5 separate regions of the Homo sapiens genome follow, and regions 1, 2, 4 and 5 are each linked to region 3. Evidence: promoter capture Hi-C in 16 types of primary human blood cells and fetal thymus (Javierre and others, 2016). All regions are on one chromosome and are shown on one strand. The core of a region is centred on a gene start or on the middle of the fragment in contact, and the rest is flanking DNA. Distances in the headings are between cores, read along the strand shown. Region 1 overlaps WDHD1 (WD repeat and HMG-box DNA binding protein 1). Region 2 has its middle 49 kb from the start of MIR4308. Region 3 holds the start of CGRRF1 (cell growth regulator with ring finger domain 1). Region 4 overlaps SAMD4A (sterile alpha motif domain containing 4A). Region 5 overlaps GCH1 (GTP cyclohydrolase 1).

Region 1 (2,700 bases), core at 199-2,698, 490 kb before region 3:
TAAAAGAAGACTTGGATAAATAGAAACATATATTCTTAGAAAGGAATTATTTGATATAAATAAAGATGTCAGTTCTTCCCTAAATTAATCTATAGTTTTGATAACATTCACATATAAAACAACAGCCTATGTGTGGTGGCTCACACCTATAATCCCAGCACTTTGGGAGGCTGAGGCAGGAGGACCGCTTGAGCTCAGGAGTTTGACACCAGCCTGGGCAACATAGCAAGACCTCGTCTCCACAAAAAAATGAAAATTAGCCAGGTGTGGTGGCATATTCCTGTAGTCCCATCTACTTGGGAGACTGAGGCAGGAGTATCACTTGAGCCCAGGAGATTAAGGCTGCAGTGGGCTATGATCTTGTCACTGTACTCCAGCCTAGGCAACAAAGCAAAACCCTGCCTTAAAAATAAAATGTCTCATCTGAAGGCTCTAAGGAAAAAAAAAAGAAAACAAAGTAAAATAAAGTACCAATAAGATGTCTAGGAGGACCAAATTGAGCTGATTCTAAAGCCCATGAGGGCTTTCTGCACTACCCAGAGAAGGATCCTTATGATGTTGTTCTGGATTCCCATCGTAACTTAAAGGGAAACTTTCACAATGTCTAGAACCTCTATGTCCTGCAAATGAAGGAGGAGGATGTCCTTAAGTTCCTTGCAGGAGGAACCCACTTAGGTAGCACCAGCTTTGTCTTCCAGATGGGACAGTACATCTATAAAAGGAAAAGTGTTGGCATCTACATCATAAATCTGAAGAGGACCTGGGAGAAGCTTCTCCTGGGAGCTTGTGCCATTGTTGCTGTTGAAAACTCTTTCAATGTCAGTGTCATATCATCCAGGAATACTGGTCCGAAGGCCATGCTGAAGTTTGCTGCTGCCACTGGAGTCACTCCAGTTGCTGGCTGCTTCACTCCTGGAACTTTCATTAACCAGATCCAGGCAGCCTTTTAGGAGCCACAGCTTCTTATGGTGACTAATCCCAGTGCTGATCACCAGCCTCTCACAGAGGCATCTTATGTTAACGTACCTACCATTGCTCTGTGTCACACAGATTTTCCTCTGTGCTATGTGGACACTACCATCCCATGCAACAGCAAGGGAGCTCACTCAGTGGGATTGATGTGGTGGATGCCGATCCAGGAAGTTCGCATGTGTGGCACCATTTCCTGTGGGAGGTCATGCCTGATCTCTACTTCTACAGTGTTCCTGAGGAGATTGAAAAAGAAGAGCAGCCTGCTGCTGAAAAGGCTGTGACCAAGGAGGAATTTCAGGGTGAATGGACTACTCCAGCTCCTGAGTTCGGTGCTCCTCAACCTGAGGTTGCAGACTGGTCTGATGGTGTGCAGGTGCCCTCTGTGCCTATTTAGCAGTTCCCTCCTGAAAACTGGAGTGCTCAGCCTGCCACAGAAGACTGGTCTGCGGCTCCCCACTGCTCAGACCACTGAATGCATAGGAACAACCACTGAGTGATCTTAAGCTGTTCTTGCACAGGCTCTTAAGCAACATGGAAATAAGGTTGATGAAAAATAAACATTGGGTCGGGCTCGCTGGCTCACGCCCATAATCCCAGCACTTTGGGAGGCTGAGACAGGTGGATCAGTTGAGGCCACGAGTTCAAGACCAGCCTGGGAAACATGGCGAAACCCTGTCTCTACTAAAAATATAGAAATTAGCTGGGCATGGTGGCACATGCCTGTAATCCCAGCTACTTGGGAGTCTCAGGCATAAGAATTGCTTGAACCCAGGAGGCGGAGGTTGCAGTGAGCCAAGATCACAATACTGCACTCTAGCTCAGGTGATAGAGCGAGACTCTATCTCAAAAAAAGAAAATAAACATTGGTTGCTAAAAAAAAAGGGAAAGTCCATGTGGAAAATGAAAAGTTTTGAAAAAGAAAAGTGATGCAAATAATTCAGTTAGATAATAAAACATAAAGTTATGAGAATTATAAGTTTGCTATTGAGTTATGAATAGACACATACCTGTTAAAGAGATAAATAGAACCAAATGTATATGGAAAGTTAGTGTATATAAAGGTAGAGAAAAGGAGATTTAGCAAATGTATTAGCACAAGGATATGAATACCAGGAAGTGGAGTGGGAATCTTTGAGGACCATCTTGGAAGCTTGCTTCTACATGATGAGTCTATATATAGGTATTTACTATATTATTATTTCAACTTTTCTATTCTTTTGAAATTTTTCAGGAAATAAAATTAATAAAGTAGATTGTATAAAAAGTAAATAGTTTTGCATGGTACAAAATATTAGTCACAGTACAAATGACAAACTGGGGAAGAAAATTTGAAACAATAAAACAGAGCTAATTTCCATAGTGTGCAAAGTATTCTTACAAATCAATAGAAACCCATTAGAAAGATGAGCAAAGACATGAGCAGACAGTGTACATAAAAAATATACAGTTGGTAGCTGGGCACAGTGGCTCACGCCTATAATCCCAGCACTTTGGGAGGCTGAGGCGAGTGGATCCCCTGAGGTCAGGAGTTCGAGACCAGCCTGGCCAACATGATAAGACCCCGTCTCTACTGAAAATACAAAAATTAGCCAGGCGTGGTGGTGTGCGCCTGTAGTCCCAGCTGCTCGGGAGGCTGAGGCAGGAGAATTGCTTGAACCTGGGAGGCAGAGGTTGCAGTGAGCCAAGATGGCACTACTTCTCTCCAGCCTGGGCAACTATATATATATA
Region 2 (2,700 bases), core at 13-2,512, 320 kb before region 3:
GGATGCAGAACTGCCTGCCTCACCCTTTTCTTTTTACTCTTTCCCTTAGGAGTGGAAGCAAAAATTCCAGACTCTGCCTTCTGTAAAAGCCACAGTGAGGCATTACGACTTGGAAGGAAAGTTCAGACTCACATTCCTATAATTCTGAACAGACCTTTTATTTTTAAAGCAATATCTGTGCTGCATAATCTCTTTTCTAAATATGTAATTGCTCTGATAATGTACTGAATTTGGGGAAGATCATTATTTGGAGACCTAGAACTTCTGATGGTACCAGGACAGCATTCCCCCTTCTAAAGCTTTCAGATACATGGAACAAAACAAAAAGGAGTATAAATTAGAAAGATAACCGTGGCACTTTGGGAGGCTGAGAATGCAGGATTGCTTGAGGCCAGGAGTTCCAGACCAGCCTGGGCAACGTAATGAGATTTCATCTTCACAAAAAAATTTTAAAAATTAGCTAGGTGTGGTGGCATGTGCCTGTAGTCCCAGCTATGTGGAGGCCGAGGCAGGAGGATCGCTTGACCAGGAGTGAAACCCTCTCTCAAAAAAAAAAAAAAAAAAAAAGGTCACCGTGAGCTACCACTTGCCCCTGTGGTGAGAAGTTATTTGCATAATCATAATGTAAGTACTGATTACTCAGTTAACTAAAAATTGTTGTGAGATAACCTTTATCTTGGGAGGAAGGAGAAGTATGAGTTAAATCTTCATCTGTCATAACAAAGATTAGATAACATCAAAATTCATCTATCAAGAAGGAACAATTTAAGCACAATTTTTTATCAAGTAACTACCAAAGAAATAGCAAAAAGACATAAGTGATTGTCTCTTTAAGAGAGGAGGTGGGAGGGAGAAAGACAAAGAACTCTTGCTTAGATTATAAAACTTCTGTTTGTCACTATTTGATTTTTTAAAATTAGGTGCCTGTATTTACTATGTTAAAAGTGAAAAAATATATCTATATCTACACATATGGAGCCAAGAGAATATGGGTAAGCAGGATGTCTGTAATGATTATTTGAAATATCCTTGAGTGTTACAACTAAAGTGATGTTTTGGGAGAAAAGGATACAAGTGAAGTACAGTTATGTGTTGCTTAACGACACGGATTCCTTCTGAGAAATGCATCGTTAGTCGATTTCATCATTTTGTGAACATCATAGATTTTACTTCCACAAACCTAGATGGTATAGCTCACTACCCACCTAAACTGTATAGTATGGCCTATTTTTCCTAGGCTACAAACCTGCACTGAATACTGTAGGCAGTTGTGATACACTGGTAAGTATTTGTGTATCTAAACTTACTAAAACGTAGAAAAGGTACACTAAAAATAGGGTGTGGGACCCTATGAGACCGCCATCGTATATACGGTCCATCATTGACCAAAACGTCCTTATGTGGCACATGACTATGAATGAATTCTTAGATGAAATAAAGGAATCACTGCTCTCACTAACTTTATTTGGCCTGCATTTTGCATCTTTAGTTTTCTGTTATTCACAGGTGTTTGGTACTTCAGATCAGGGGTTGGCAACCTTTTTCTGGAAAATGCGTGATGGTAAAACTTTTAGACTTTGCAGGTCACATGGTTTCTGTTATAACTACTCAACTCTGCCATTCTCGTGTGGAATCCACCATAAACCATATGTAAATGAATGTGACTGTGTTCCAATATAACTTTATTCATGGACACCAAAATTTGAATTTCATGCCATTTTTGTGGCCGTGAAATATTCTTTTTTTTTTTTTCATTCATTAACAATGTAAAAAGCATTCTTAGCTCATGGACCATACAAAAACAGATGGTGGGTAGGATTTGGCCAGCAAGCCATAATTTGCAAACCCCTGCTTCAGATCTAACACATTTGTGTGGTTCCCTCCCATGCATAGCAAAGAGCTCCAGCCATCTGGGCTGCAAAGAGGAATTTACATGGAGCAGGTAAGCATCAGTTCCCCCAGCATTTGCAACTATGGAAATTTTGTCTTAAAGGGCTTCAAGGTCTTGATGGGCTCTAAGGAGTTAAACTTCATGCTTCTCCTTTTCCTCTACCCTATTCTCATTTGTTTTTACTGTCTAAGTATAGGAACATCCCTATGAAGCTCTATTTCGGTGAGTATTACATTGTTGGAAATTTCATTACCAAGACAAAAATAATGTAGGAGGTCATAGACATAGAGATGTGGGCTCTGAGTTGGGCCCCTTGGCATCAAAAGAAGCTTCTGAAGGGTTGGACATAAAGGAGATTTCATGAATGTCAGGCCCTGTCTCCACCCACAGGTGACCAGGCCAGGTGAGTCCTGGAAGTGAGGTCCTGCCTGCCCTGAGAAGACTCCCTAGAAGACAGCACCCATAGCTTCCTTCCTTGTCACCAGTAGTTGCCATTGATGGGGAGAACGCAGATCTTCCAAGTGCCTTTGTTAAGGCTTTGTTTCCTTAGGTTTAACTGTGTTGCATGCTGGAGTATAAATATGAGTGAGACTTCCCCGTCCTCAAGTCTAGGGAGAGATATATGTAATGTAAACAAATATTTGAAGCACACTGAATAAAAGCTCTATTATAGGTTGATCCCATGTTGGAGAGGGGAGTAGTGGCGATAGAGACCGAAGAGATAGGCAGAGGACATACCACAGACATGCCCTGCCCAAGAACTGATATTGAAGTTGCGAAAAGCTGGTGGAAAGATGTCAAGCAGGGGA
Region 3 (2,814 bases), core at 155-2,654:
TGTATTTCCAATCCTCACCCACATACAAGGCAAGGAATTCTATGCTCTATTGCTGGTAGGGTGAGGAGCAGTGTGGACAGGTTAAAACTTTTGTCACTTCCTAAAGATGGCATATATTTTCAGAAACCGACAAGGGCCCGTGTTCTTTAAGGCAATCACATATATGTGACCAAAGGCTATTTTAAAACTCGTTTTACGTAGCCTTCTTTATTCACTAACATGTTCTCTGCCCCTATGCTCATGCTGTCTTCTCTGAGATGCTTTTTCTTCCCTACTATATACATTTAACTCCATTTATTTTTCAAAATGCTCATTCTCCAAAATCCAGCTCATGTCCCTCTTCAACAGAGTCCCCTCTGACCTCTTCAGACCATGGCTGTTATCCACTTAGAACTGCTGTTTGATCTTTTTGTAACTATTATCATCTCAAAGGGATTTTGGAGGCTGCAGCCTAGAAAAACTGTTGTGGGCTAGTTACACGGTTTCAACTCGTTATTTACAAGGCTTGTCTAAACATGATACAATAGCATCTCCTCAAGAGAGAAATTGAACCTCTAGGCTAGAAGAATTGCTCAGCGGTTATCTAACAGACCATTCTCCTTGTCTCCAATAGGCAACTGTCCTACCCTCGGTGTTACATATTTCTAAGGTCTCTTCCAGCTCTAAAATTATGATTTTACAATTCTATCGACTAAATATTACTTCAAAAGGTGTGGAATGTATACAGAAACCATTAAATTCTCAAACGGTAACAGTTCAGTTACAAGTTACTCTGAAAGATCTGAGGCTAAGGGCTCCATTCAGGTCAGAATCACAACTGTTAACCTCGCTTACTGTCCAGTCTGTGCACTGTAGCACAGGTGACTAACTCATCCAGGACACACAGTAGGCCCGAATCCGGGACAGAAGCCTACTAGAGAAGCACTTTCTCCCAACACCAAGCCCAAGCCCAAGCCCTTCCTGGCTGCTTTATCGCCTAGAAACAAAGCTGAGTAAAACACCCCAATGCGGTACCACCCCAAGATGCCCCAGCGACACGGACCAAACGGTGATGCAGGGCAGTGACGCAGGTGCAGCGTCCACCTTGTTTTCCTCCCAGAGAAAGTCGGAGTTCTAGGCACCCGGGGACACCGAATCCCCGACGTCCTCCGGCCCGCGGCCCTCCGGCTCCGGTGCCCCCTGCTGCTCGTCGCGACCCCACTCTGGCGGTATCCGCCCCTTCGTCTCTCACCCCTGGGACACTTACCATCCCAATACCAGGCCGGTGGTCACGATGAAGCAGGTAAAGACCACCGCGATGTAGAAAAGCGGCGAGTATTCATAAAGCGTTACCAGAAACACCGCAGCCATCAGGGTCTTGCTCTGGGTAGAGCCCGGCTCCAGCCGCGGAGCCCAGCCCAGCCCGGCTGAGCCCCGCCCGCCCGGCCAGGGTAAAAGCCACTACAGTGCCCCGGAGCGGACAAACTTTGTAGGTCCGCACTTGCCTGGGGTTCTCATGAGCTAGACTTTAGGGCAGCCTCGCGGACAGCGGGAGCTGGCGTGCCAATCACGGCGCCCCCTGCCGGACACGCCACGCCCCTCCCGCTCCCGTCCCGAGCTATTGGCTACGCAGACCTGGGATGGGGGGGGCCCGACTCGCACCGCCCCCGACTCCCAGGATTGGTACCCAGCGGGCGTCTTAAGCGCTGTGGCCCAGTGGTCATTGCTGTTCCGCCGGCAAATTCTAAGTAGACTTTGGGGCCAACTCTGTGCCAGCCTTAGGCAATGTAGGTTTTCTGATGTCAGAGAGAGGCGCAGTCTGAAATCTACGTGCATCGTTTCTAAATCCTGAAACCCTGCCTATTATATCTTAGGCAAATTTGGGAGAGGGTGGAGGAGGAGGAGGAGGAGGGCGGGCATCTTGGATTCTACAAAATGAAATAACCATAAGCACAGTGAAAACACAAAAAAAGGAGTCTCTACCACAAGCAATTTATACGAGACTTGTCAGCCTTTTCAGATTGGACTTAATCATAGAGGAAAATCAGCATTGCTTATCCAAGATTCTCTTAGAAATAAAGCATCCGCTTCCTCCCACATCCCCCTCCTTTTCTCCTCTTCTTGTACTCCTCAAATTAGAATTAGCCAAACATTTGAAACTGTATTTGTTTCCACTTTAAGAATAATTTTTAAAAAACTTTTTAAATCACACAGAAGCTTTTTAAAAATTACTGAAAGTAGCTAAATGGTCACTCCCTTGTCTCAACCCTGTGAGTCAGCTCCATCAAGGTGGCCTCCCTGAAAGTCTTTCATAACAGTTCATTGACACCTCGTTGGTTTGCATTTACTCCTAAAGCCACATCTAGCCACATCAGAGAATGGGGATATGTAGTCTTATTATTCGTGAGCAGCAACACACCCTGGTACAAATCAAGAGTTTTGTTACTGAGGAGGAAAGAGAATGGACATTGGGATAGTTAACTAGTAGCCTCTGTCACACTCCTAAATCACCAGTAAAATTCGTGTTGAGAAAGATGAACTAAGTTTGTCCTATGGCCTCACATATTCCTTGGCAAATGAGCACGTAGTCTCTGGAGCAGCACTGTTTGAGAAGCTTGCTTCTACAACACAATTTTTAATTACTATATATCTGATTTGTGAAAATATATACTTTAATCAGCCCTCAACTGTTGGAGAATTTTTCATTGCTATAAATAACACTGCAATGAACATCCCTACAGCTAAAGTATTTCCTTAGGATAAATTACTAGAGGTGGAACTATGGTTTTAAAAAATGTACATTTTAAAGATTTTGTAAAAACACTGCTCTCCAGA
Region 4 (2,779 bases), core at 251-2,750, 280 kb before region 3:
CTAGATATAGCTCATCTGGGTTACAAGGATTCAACTTTATGAGGAATTACATTTTACATCTCAGCCTGTGAGAAATTTTGCTTCCAGGGACCAATTTCGGTTTTACATGTCAGTTGAGCAGCTGAGCCTGATCAAAAGGGAGTCACTGTGTGGTCACTGTCATAATGTCAAGCTGTGGCTGCCTCTCAGAACTCTGGGGTTGCTAGGCTATGGTGGCAGGAACCTCTCTATCATATGTTTTCTTTTGTTTTCACCTTTTATTAGAGGTTTAATTATATAAACTTTGAATATCATAAGCCAAAAAACAAACCCAAGGCTTAGAGACATAAGTAACTTGTCTAAGATCACACAGCTAGAGAATGCTTGAGCCAGAATTCAAAACCAGGTGCATCTCTCCACTCATATGCTTAACTGACACAATATTTAGAATGTATATCGTACAGGAATTAGAAATATTAGAATGAGATTCAAGCCATGGATAGGTAAGCTCCAAAGAGGCTGTTTCTTGATGCCATGATTAAGGTGTGAAATATTTCAAAGACAATGAGGGGAACAAGCTATAAACAACAATGTCTGTAAAGTTAGAGTTTGTATTTAGAAACATGCCCCTAAGTCTGGTGACAAATTTATTGGCTGTTTTGGGCACAGATCAAACTGCAAACATTTCTAAAACCCTCTCTCCATATTTTTGTTAAAAAGCAGCTCATAGCTAAAGATGTGGCATGTGCAGAATGGCCAGGTGGGAATAGTTAACAGAGATCCCATTCTGGTTTTTCCTTGAGGGGGCTATTTGACTCAGTTCTTCTTTTCTTCTTCTTGTCGTCTTTTTTTTTTTTTTTTTGAGACAGAATTTCCCTCTGTTGCCCAGGCTGGAGTACAGTGGTGCGATCTTGGCTCACTGCAACCTCTGCCTTCTAGGTTCAAGTGATTCTCCTGCCTCAGCCTCCCAAGCAGCTGAGATTACAGGCATGCACCACCATGCCTGGCTTATTTTTTTTTTTTTTTTTTGTATTTTAGTAGAGACAGGGTTTCACCATGTTGGCCAAGCTGGTCTCGAACTCTAGACCTCAAGTGACCAACCTGCCTCAGCCTCCCAAAATGTTGGGATTACAGGTATAAGCCACCACGCCAGGCCTCAGTTCTTATTTTCTATTCAATCATGTATGTTGAAAAAAAGAAAAAGACACACCAGTGTTACAAAACCTTGTATTAATCATTTCCCTTCACTTTCAATATAACGTTGATATGAAATATAGCCATGATTCTTAGTTACATGGGAGGAAATGAATAATAAATACATTGTAGCAAGTTTAAACCACAAGGGTGTTTCACTGGTAACAACATTTGAAAACTGTACACTTGCAAAGAACAGCATCTTCAAACATTAGTATATCTGTATATCAGTAAAGCTTTTACATGTAACAAACATGCTCTTTCCATATATGACAAATTTAAAAAATATGCATTGCTTGGCAACATGAACTAGGCAAAAATATTTCTTTGTTCACTAACTTTATACAGGAAAACAGGACGAAAGGCATGCATGTACAATACAGATGCCTGCACAGGGCATGCAACAAAAGAAAGCTTTTTAAAAGTCAGCTTACATTAGGCATAAATACATGAGGATTATATATTAATAAGGGAGGAAGTTTTCTGTTCGACATTATTAACATTCCTGTTTTCTTCCTATTCCTCCCAGAGGAATACACATTCACCTTTAAGTAAAGATAAAGGAATTACAAAAAAATAAAACTCACTTTGCAAACATCTCTGATGACTTGTAAAAAAAAAAAAAATCAACATTAGTGTTATCACAGCTCCATGTGCAAATTATCCTTCTGCAGGTTCTTCTTGTAACAGGCACACCTGAGCGCCTTGGTCAGGCTGCTTCCCCAGGCCCAAGCTGGAGCTGACTGCTACAGACATCTCCAGGGGACCAATGAGGCCAGGCCTGCTTTTCCTCCCCTTGCCCGCCTTCTGGTTGCATGCTTTTGCATTCAGCCCAGCTCAGCCCCCAAGCCCAGGCTCCTGGGGAATAACATCTACAACCTTGCACCGGCAGTAGCTACAAGAGGTGCAGAAGAACAAAAGATCCGGAGAAGGCTCCCATCCCGTAAAAGGCAGCCAAGGACACCTCAAAAGAAACCCTTGTTTCCCTCAGTGTCTCTTCAAACGAATGGGAGAGAGGGGGGCCCAGCTGTAGCTCCAATCCTGAGTACCAAAAAGGAACCCTCAATACACAGGATTTGAGAGCTCGGTGCAAAGAGCCGCCCGGACAGGCAGACCCAGCCACATCTATTTTGCTTGCTGGCTCTCGTTTAAAAAGTGAAAACTCAAAAGCATGTGAAAAAACAACATATCAGCAGCAATGTTTCATGTCTTGTACACAGTTCATGTGTTTCTTCCTACTGTTTCTGGTAAGAAGCCACTATGAATAAAAAGCACCAATAAAACATCATACATGATAATATTGTAGAACACCACTGTCCCTAGGACAATGTAGAGATGCCAAGTACACACTGCTTAAATCAGAACAAGGGGGGAAAAGCATGTAGTGAAATAGATTTTACTCTGAGATTTTAAAATTGTTACTATTTTCTTAATATAAAACAGTTGCATTTGGTGGGGGTCAATGGGTAAATACAAAAAAAGGCACTGCTGCTTTTATTACTAAATATCTGACTTCACAGCCTCATGCATGCAACTGTTTGATTCTTTTATAAATAAAATTCTTTTGCTTTAGGATTTTTAAATTGAGCTATATACCTGTAGTCAA
Region 5 (2,783 bases), core at 220-2,719, 350 kb before region 3:
GCCCCAGCCACCAATATTTTATTGCCCTTAAATATCCTTGTTGTTTCTTCGTATAAAGTTAGTGAATTTTGAGTGATGGAGGAAATACTGGGAGGTGTGTGTGTGTGTGGAGAGAGAGAGAAAGTTAAGAACAAGATGAAGGGGTCGGGTAAAGTGTTCCTACTCTTTTTTTTTTTCAAAAATAATCAAGCTAAGTTTGAATAACTTGAGGTTATAGTGACCATATCATAATTGAAATAAATGAGTCTCGGCCGGGTGCCGTCTTTCACACTTGTAATCCCAGCACTTTGGGAGGCTGAGGCGGGCGGATCACTTGAGGTCAGGAGTTTGAGACCAGCCTCACCAACATGGTGAAACCCCATCTCTACTAAAAATACAAAGATTAGCTGGGCGTGGTGGCGCACACCTGTAATCCCAGCTAATCAGGAGGCTGAGGCAGGAGAATTACTTGAACCCGGGAGGCAGAGCTTGCAGTGAGCCGAGATTGTGCCATTGCACTCCAGCCTGGGCGATGGAGTAAGACCCTATCTCAAAAAAATAAAAATAAAAGAAGAGGAATAAATGAGTCTCTGTGACCAGTTGACTGTGCTGTGGCTCTGATGTGTTCCTGTTTCTTTATGCAGGCCCTGGGATTTAACACAGTTGTGAAATGGTGGTCCTGATATTTCTCAATTCTGTGTTGGAATCTGTAAAAAAAAAACTACTCCAGCAATCTGACAACTGCCCTCTAAAGTTGTTCCTGTTACTTTGTTTTCACTTCCACTTTCTCATTCATTTCCTCTGGGGATCAATAAGAAAGTGGGTAGAAGAGACAAATTTAACTTCCCCAGTTTCTGACCTCATTCCTGCTCAGCTATTTTGCTATTAGATAGGGCTGCTTGGCACCATGAAAGAATATTATATCATAGCTGTAATTGCTTCACTGGAATAAGGCTCTTAGCACAAATCCAGAAACATTCTGGCTGCTTGCGTGTGATCCATCCCTGGTGGCAGTGCTGAAAAGTTGCTGAGAAAAAGTGTGTTGGTAGTGATTGGGAGTAATTAATCTTACTATAATTTTTATTAACGACTCCCTTCCCAGTAACTTACCCTCAACTAATGATGTATTAAACCAATTTCATGTCAACTGTGAGTAAAAGTATCTTTACTAAAATTGGTTATTCTTATGGTTTTATAATATACAGTCTAAGTAAAATCAGCATGCTTACTGTGCAAACATAGCTGTAGGCCCAGTCCCCTGGGCCTCCCTGTCAGCAAGATTGCTAACCCTATACCTTGCCCATATAGAAATTCCAGCACTGCTGATGCCTATAACAGACTGTCCATATGTGAAAGGTGTAATGGATAGTTTCATAGTGTAAAAAAGCTTGGCAGATCACATTAGGCCTTGGTCTTAATGTAACAGCCTTCTCTGAAAAACCAACTGTTGATCATGATTAACACTTTATGGGAAATGGACTCTTGAGTGATTCAGTGAGATCATACAATAAATGGCAACCTGGTGGTAGAAGGAAATAATCTTAGTTATTTCCTTTCCAAGTGAAAGGAAAAGATCTCAAATAATTAAGCTTTTATGAAACAATACAAAGGAGTTGATTATTAGCATGGGGATTTGTCCTTAGACTAATAGGATTAAAATTTAAGAATAAAATGGAACATGAAGCCAAAGAACCAAGTGTATGTTGCTTTCAAATATTTTGCAAAAAATTTGAATAAAGAGTCTATTAAATAGAAAAGAAGACTAAGATTTTATCCAACTACTTATTCCTTATAAGAAGTAAGAATATTTAGAGAATGAAGAGGAATAAAAGCTGAATGTCTTAGCAAAACTTCACTGCTCATTTTAATCTTATATATGAAGTTTGTTATATGCTTGCCTTTAAATGAATGACCTTTCAGTGCCAGTGAAGTCAAATATCAAGCAGTAAAGCCTTAAGTAACAAGAAAATGCCAGAAGTGAGTTGATCTGGCTCAACTCTAGTAGAATTCTAGAATAAACTTAGTTTGAATAGAACTTTCTTTTGTTGCTGAAAAGCCATTGAACATGTATTCATTTTCTTCCCTTAGAAATAACTGAGCCTCGGCTGGGTGAGGTGGCTCATGCCTGTAATCTCAGCACTTTGGGAGGCCGAGGTGGGCAGATCACTTGAGGTCAGGAGTTCCAGACCAGCCTGGCCAACATGGTGAAACCCCATCTCTACTAAAAATACCAAAATTAGCAGGGCATGGTAGCATGCGCCTGTAATCCCAGCTACTTCGGAGGCTGAGATGGAAGAATCGCTTGAACCTGGGAGGCGGAGGTTGCAGTGAGCCGAGATTTCACCACTGCACTCCAGTCTCGTGACAGAGCAAGACTCTGTGTCACTAAAAATAAATAAATAAATAAATAATTGAGTGAATGTACGAAATCTTGAATTTAGAGTTGTAGTATCTCAGGTAGCCATGGCTGACCTGTTGGGTGGGCACTGTGCCAGCTACTGTGGAGGCTAAAGAAGCAGGACATGGCAGCCACCCTCAAGGAGAGTGCACAGGGCAAGACTGCAAGTGCCATGGAAATGCCTGCTGTAGCTCCAAGTTCAGAGGAGCCATGATGGCTGTGGCCTGGCAGGTGAATAGACCTGGAGGTGGAGGGATGAGCAGAATTCTAAATGGGGGAGAAGTTTCTCTAGGTATAGTTAATGCATGAGCAAAGACCAGTCAGAGGGTAGGAGCAAGGCCTATTCCAGTGGATGGGAACCAGATTGACTGATGGAAGTAAGAGTAAGTGAGGTGAGTATTAGATT

The links. The method cuts DNA at HindIII sites, captures the fragments that hold promoters and counts their contacts. A CHiCAGO score of 5 or more calls a contact.
Region 1: a fragment that was not itself captured here is called in contact with the fragment with the promoter of CGRRF1 in region 3 in 1 of 17 cell types (M0 macrophages); the score reaches 5.4 in M0 macrophages.
Region 2: a contact is called between a fragment that was not itself captured here and the fragment with the promoter of CGRRF1 in region 3, in 3 of 17 cell types (M0 macrophages, M1 macrophages and endothelial precursors). The highest score is 7.9, in M0 macrophages.
Region 4: a contact is called between a fragment that was not itself captured here and the fragment with the promoter of CGRRF1 in region 3, in 16 of 17 cell types (M1 macrophages, activated CD4 T cells, megakaryocytes and 13 more). The highest score is 12.1, in M1 macrophages.
Region 5: a contact is called between a fragment that was not itself captured here and the fragment with the promoter of CGRRF1 in region 3, in 1 of 17 cell types (M1 macrophages). The highest score is 5.6, in M1 macrophages.

The regions. Positions count from the first base shown.
Region 1 is chr14:55,003,588-55,006,287 of GRCh38, reverse strand. All of the region lies in intron 7 of WDHD1 (WD repeat and HMG-box DNA binding protein 1), which reads left to right. It also overlaps the pseudogene RPSAP13. Among named protein-coding and RNA genes, the nearest start is that of WDHD1, 22 kb to the left of the region's middle. The HindIII fragment of the contact is 1,352 bases long and covers 773-2,124 here.
Region 2 is chr14:54,827,371-54,830,070 of GRCh38, reverse strand. No RefSeq gene overlaps it. Among named protein-coding and RNA genes, the nearest start is that of MIR4308, 49 kb to the left of the region's middle. The HindIII fragment of the contact is 1,921 bases long and covers 302-2,222 here.
Region 3 is chr14:54,508,496-54,511,309 of GRCh38, reverse strand. CGRRF1 (cell growth regulator with ring finger domain 1) reads right to left here and starts at 1,404. Exons shown (of 6, transcript NM_006568.3): 1 at 1,247-1,404. The coding sequence starts at 1,350. RefSeq lists an enhancer at 924-1,153 and silencers at 1,329-1,514, 1,314-1,743. The HindIII fragment of the contact is 20,688 bases long and covers 1-2,198 here.
Region 4 is chr14:54,791,726-54,794,504 of GRCh38, reverse strand. SAMD4A (sterile alpha motif domain containing 4A) reads right to left here. Exons shown (of 13, transcript NM_015589.6): 13 at 1,193-2,779. Among named protein-coding and RNA genes, the nearest start is that of MIR4308, 85 kb to the left of the region's middle. The HindIII fragment of the contact is 178 bases long and covers 1,412-1,589 here.
Region 5 is chr14:54,856,052-54,858,834 of GRCh38, reverse strand. The region is part of intron 3 of GCH1 (GTP cyclohydrolase 1); the gene reads left to right. Among named protein-coding and RNA genes, the nearest start is that of MIR4308, 21 kb to the left of the region's middle. The HindIII fragment of the contact is 202 bases long and covers 1,369-1,570 here.